2 separate regions of the Homo sapiens genome follow, and region 2 is linked to region 1. Evidence: promoter capture Hi-C in 16 types of primary human blood cells and fetal thymus (Javierre and others, 2016). All regions are on one chromosome and are shown on one strand. The core of a region is centred on a gene start or on the middle of the fragment in contact, and the rest is flanking DNA. Distances in the headings are between cores, read along the strand shown.

The links. The method cuts DNA at HindIII sites, captures the fragments that hold promoters and counts their contacts. A CHiCAGO score of 5 or more calls a contact.
Region 2: a contact is called between a fragment that was not itself captured here and the fragment with the promoter of RYR3 in region 1, in 1 of 17 cell types (megakaryocytes). The highest score is 7.9, in megakaryocytes.

What each region holds. Positions count from the first base shown.
Region 1 is chr15:33,309,662-33,312,361 of GRCh38, forward strand. RYR3 (ryanodine receptor 3) reads left to right here and starts at 1,306. Exons shown (of 104, transcript NM_001036.6): 1 at 1,306-1,435. The coding sequence starts at 1,385. RYR3-DT (RYR3 divergent transcript) reads right to left here and starts at 998. Exons shown (of 3, transcript NR_120327.1): 1 at 917-998. RefSeq lists enhancers at 1,527-2,038, 2,039-2,548. The HindIII fragment of the contact is 6,631 bases long and covers 1-2,700 here.
Region 2 is chr15:33,981,086-33,983,785 of GRCh38, forward strand. All of the region lies in intron 2 of AVEN (apoptosis and caspase activation inhibitor), which reads right to left. All of the region lies in intron 1 of CHRM5 (cholinergic receptor muscarinic 5), which reads left to right. Among named protein-coding and RNA genes, the nearest start is that of CHRM5, 14 kb to the left of the region's middle. The HindIII fragment of the contact is 1,826 bases long and covers 381-2,206 here.

The sequences.
Region 1 (2,700 bases), core at 56-2,555:
AAGGAGGCGGTATATGAAGCTGTGAAATGGCTTGGGGTTTCCAGTGTCTTCCACCATCATCAGCCCAGAATTACCACCTTCCCAGTTGCACTTCCTCCTAAATCTACATCTCTGGTGCCTTTTGCCTTGAACAGTCTCTTGCCTTGGAGCTTCTCGGCCATCAAACAGAAGGGGGCACCCTGCACCGTCAGTCAAGGCAAGGACCAATCTGGCAATCCCCAACCATGGAAAAGGACCTAAGGCTGGGTGGGATGTAGGAGCCTTCCAGGACCTGGAAGGGAGCCTCCTGTAACTACTCTCTACTCCCTTTAGAGTCCACAGGGCTGGAACTCTAAATGCAGAATAAGGTTAGGGGTGGGCAGAGAGGAAGGGTTGTGATGCCACCTGACTTCCAAATTGAGGGTGGCACAGGATCCCCCAGAAGCTCCCTGGGGTACAGAAGTCACAGCAACCCTGGACAATCCAGGGGTTTGGTAAAGTGTACTTACCAATTTTGAAGAGGGGAAGGGGTTCTCTTAAGGTGTAGAAAGGACTATCCAGGGAGTTGCAAACTTTGTTGTAAGTGGACAATCACCCTCGCTCCTCACTGCACCGTCTTCTCCTTGCCCAACAATGCACGCGGGTCCTAGCAAGGTATTCGAGTCCAGATCTCTCTCTCTCTCTCTCTCTCTCTCTCTGTCTCTGTCTCTCTCTCTTTCCTCTCTCTGTCTCTCTGTCTCTGTCTCTCTCTTTCCTCTCTCTCTCTCTCTGTCTCTGTCTCTCTCTTTCCTCTCTCTCTCTCTCTATCTCTGTCACACACACACACACACACACACACACACACACACACACACAGGCAAAGTGGGCAAAGCGGGCAAAGCGAGCAAAGCGAGAGGGTTGGTACCCAGTCTGGGCGCGCTGGAGCTAAGCAACTGGCCTTTGTTTGTGAATTGGAGCAGTTTAGGGGACATCCTCCGGTCGCCGCGGGGCGCGCGCCTCCGCTGAGTGTGCGGTGCGGTACCCAGCGGTGCGGGGGAGGCTCCACCGCGCCAGCCCAGGGCCCCCGCACCGCCCCCGCCAGCTCGACGCGCCCAGCGTTGCGCTCTCCACGGAGCGGGCGGCCGCAGCGCACTTGGCTGGGGCGAGAGGCGAGAGGGGTGGGCGGACTGCTTGGTTGGCGTTGGCGCTCTGCAGTGCAGTGGAGTGTTAGCCCAGCTCCCTATATGGTCGGGGATTAGCTTGGCGCTGCTGAGGCTGAGGCTGAGCCAGGAGCTGGAGGAGGAGGTGGAGGACGAGGACGAAAAGGAGGAGGAGAAAGAGCGCAGCAGCAGTCAGCGCACGCCGAGCGGCTGCCGGGGGAAGCAGAGGCGCCGGAGGCTGGGGCACCGCCGACGCCTCGGGAGCCATGGCCGAAGGGGGAGAAGGAGGCGAGGACGAGATCCAGTTTCTGAGGACTGTGAGTCTCCGCGGCGGGGGCGAGGCCGTGGGCAGGTGGGGAGGAGCGCGGAGCGCGGCGAGGAGGGGCTGGCTGCGCTGCGCCGCGGTGCCGGGTGCCCGGTGCCGGGCGCTTTCTCCGCACCCGCGGGCTGCAGAGGCGGACCGGCCACCTACCCGCGGGGCCGCGAGGGGCTGCGTGGGAAGGGGCACCATCTCCTGCCTCTCCCTTGTTCCCCTACCGCCACCCCTGCCCCAGGCCCTCCACCTAGGACCGCTCGCTCTCCAGGCAACTTGCTACTTGGTCTGAAACCCTTGATGCCCAAACTTCAGCCGGGGTTTGTTCGCGGTTGTCCTGACCCATAAGATCGGCGTTGGAAGCCCTCGCCCCGGGGTCGGCCCTCTGACACCTCCATACTCCACCCCAGCCCCATTCCTCTTCCAGGGCGCCCCCACGCACAGGGGAACCTCCGGGAAGGAGCCAGCGGGGCAGGGGGGAGTGTGGGGAGCCGGGTCGGAGAAGCGGGCGCAGGCGCTTGGTCCTAGCCCTGGGATCGCTCGGAGGGGAATTCACCCAGCGCTGCCCCTCTCGTGTTAAGCCCCACGCCGGCAACTGCTGCTGGAGCCTGACTTGACTGACTGCCTGTCGTGTGTTCGAGAGCTGTGGCTTCTGCTCCTGGCTCCCGCGAGCCCCGCAGGACAGGGAAACCCCAGTCAGTGGCTCCGCGTCACTCAGGTCCCCTCCTTGACACCTGAGGGCGCTGCTCCGTCCCAGATTTGGGGGTGAGGGGGCGAAGTCTGTTGCAGCCACACCAGCCTTGCCCTGTAGGAGATAATACAAAGACTTTCAGGGTGGACGGCCACCCGGAGGGGTGGGGGCATTGGGGATGCATCCTAGCGCTGACTTCAGCCAAGTGACCTTGAGCAAGTCGCATAATCCGCCCTACTCAGCCTCAGTTTCCTCATGTGTAAAATAAAATGTAACCAGCGTTTCAGGGTGATAAGGATTAAACGTTATCGTGAATGTCATAATGTTTTGTAAACGGCAAATCGCTCTGTAAATCTTAGGTAATTTTATATGCGCTGCCTTGCTCTCAGGAATTAGAATGAAATTCTTTCTTTCCCTCTCTCACTTCCCTTTAAGGGTGCCCCCTTCTCCATGACCTGGTCTTCGAAGATCACAACTTACCTCTTGTCCATCTTTTGAACCACTCTCCTCCTGTTGAAGCGCTTCCTTCCAATTTACTTCAGTTTCTCTTCCAAACATGGTTCTTTTGTCAAAGCTGG
Region 2 (2,700 bases), core at 44-2,543, 670 kb after region 1:
TCCCCAGTTTTGGACAGCAACCCCTCTTAATTTTCTCTCAAAATTGTGGAGAGAAAATATCTGAATTAAGAAATCCAAAAGGTAATGTGAAAAATATTAACAGCGATGCCTTATCAATTTTCCTAAAAAATATGAAGCGGATGAATTTCATTTCACTTTCCGCATGCACAGTTTATAACACATAATTATCTTTTTGCTTGAGTTATTAGCAGTCAAGAAAAACTCATTTGCAAGTTAGCACTCCTGCGTACTAATATATTTTTTCCGGACTTTTCAGTTTAAATGAAACAAGTAGCAAGCATAAGAGTATTGCTCCCATTGTCATGACCAGATCAAAAGGCACCAAACTAAACATAACCAAGTTTTTTTAAGTAGCCAAAAGCTTTCTTCTTTTAACAGATACTAAAAATGGGGGGAAGGGGAGGAAACACAAGTTTCCCAAACAATGAAATGGCTCATTTTCTATACAATACACCAAAAGGGCCTACTGCTGCATAGCCAACTGTATGCATACCACAGGGGGCGAGAGTGCAATATAAAGAATAGTCATGGGTTTTGGAATCAGATTGAAAGGAATTCACACTGCAGTTCCATTACACACTAGTTATGTGATCCTTGTTACCTAACTTCTTTGAGCTTAATTTATCTCATCTATAAAATTGTCTAATACTAACACTGAAGGGCTATTTTGAATTTAAACAAAATGTATACAAAATACCAAATATCTAGCCAGGTACTCTATAAACAAGTTTTGTTTTTTTGTTTTTGAAACGGAGTCTCACTCTGTTGCCCAGGCTGGAGTGCAGTGGCGCGATCTTGGCTCACTCCAACCTCAGCTCACTGCAACCTCCACCTCCCAAGTTCAAGCAATCCTCCTGCCTCAGCCTCCCTAGTAGCTGGGACTACAGGTACATGCCACCATGCCCTGCTAATTTTTGTATTTTTTCTTTTTTTTTTTATTAGTAGAGACAAGATTTCACCACACTGGCCAGGCTGGTCTTGAACTCCTGACCTCAGATGATCCACCCGCCTCAGCCTCCCAAAGTGCTGGGATTACAGGCATGAACCACCACACCCAGCACTAAATAAGAGTTATTTTAACACATTTGTTAACACCTACATCTCTGCAGATGTAGAGCTGCATCTGCAGCTCTGCCCCCAACAAATTAAGCCAATCTAATTCAGAGGTTGGCCCTAATGCATTTTTCAGCAGTGCTGCCTTCTCAATTTCAAATTCCTATAAGATCACACCCTCTCCCATCCCAATCCAAACCCTAGTAATGACCCCAAGAATTACCAAATGCTATGCTCTGCCAAAAATAAAAATTAAAAAAGGAAAAAAATAAATGGAAGTATTTCTGATAATACTACTAAAATATTTTCTGGAGCAAAGCAATAACATATGGTTAAGAGGCCAAATCTCAGTCCCAATGGTCAAATTCAATTTGATTGACTGCTATTAACTCAGCACTGCCAAATCTTGATCCTTTTTTAAGATTTTACAATTTTTTTTAAATGCTATAAATGTTTACCCATATCTACCACTGCACTGACTCAAAATTTTTGAATTTAGTAATGGAAACAAGAATTTGTTTAGGTTATGGCATTTCCAAGAACAGCAGTAAAGAATGTAGTTATGTTGTACATCCAAATACCATGATGCTTTCCCCATGATGTTTTCCCCTTATGAATCGAAAAACACATCAACCACATTCTCTCTCTCTCTCTGGACCAGCCCATCTGGACAACACCCCTAAAGCAACAAAGGCTACCTTAGAATTATCCCAACTTCTGAGGGAGATCAGTCAAATGGTTAGCATGTCCTGGGATGACTGTTGGATCACTGGGACATGCCTCCTTCCTACCCATCAACTCCTGTTGGGATAATTTTTGAAAGACTGCACCTCTTAACTGCATGGACCATGACTGTCTCTTGCACAAGAAGCACAACATTAAGGCAGGTTTTTCTGAGCAACGGATTTTAGACGTGGATATATAAATCACTTGGGATATAGCTAACCATATACATATATGTCCATACTCTGTGTGTGTGTGTGTGTGTGTGTGTGTGTGTATGTGTGTGTGTATATATACACACGTGTGTGTATGTGTGTGTATATATATATATACATATATATACACACACATACACACACACACATATATATGGCTTCTTGGTAACCAACAAATGACAAAAGATAAAATAAGCTTTTTGTAACTGATTAATGAGGAAGAAATTAAAATCAATTATTGATGTTTCACCTTGTTTTACAAACGTACCCTCATTAACCCCATTCAGTTAACATAAACGCTTCCATTCTTCAAAGAAATTGACAGAAGGGTCAATGACACAAGAATAGCACCATTTATAATACAGATAGATCTGCAGTAAAGCATAAATAAAAAGGGCAAGTATTTAGTCATTATAACTTGACCTCTTGTCCAAGGCAATTCTTGGCTTCAGAGAGAACTAGTTCCCCTGAACTTTTAAGGAAAAACAGTATCTTTGCATAGCCTCAAAACATTATTTACTGTCATTGTTTTTAACACATGCCCAGAAATTCCTCCTTCCATGGATGAAGCTTACTCGCATCGTCTTGAGTGTGAGCAGGACTTAGTGACTCGCTGCTAGTGAACAATAAATGGAAAGGGAAAAACAGGGAGTTTACAGGGAGAAACCTGACGGAGGTTTCTAAGTGG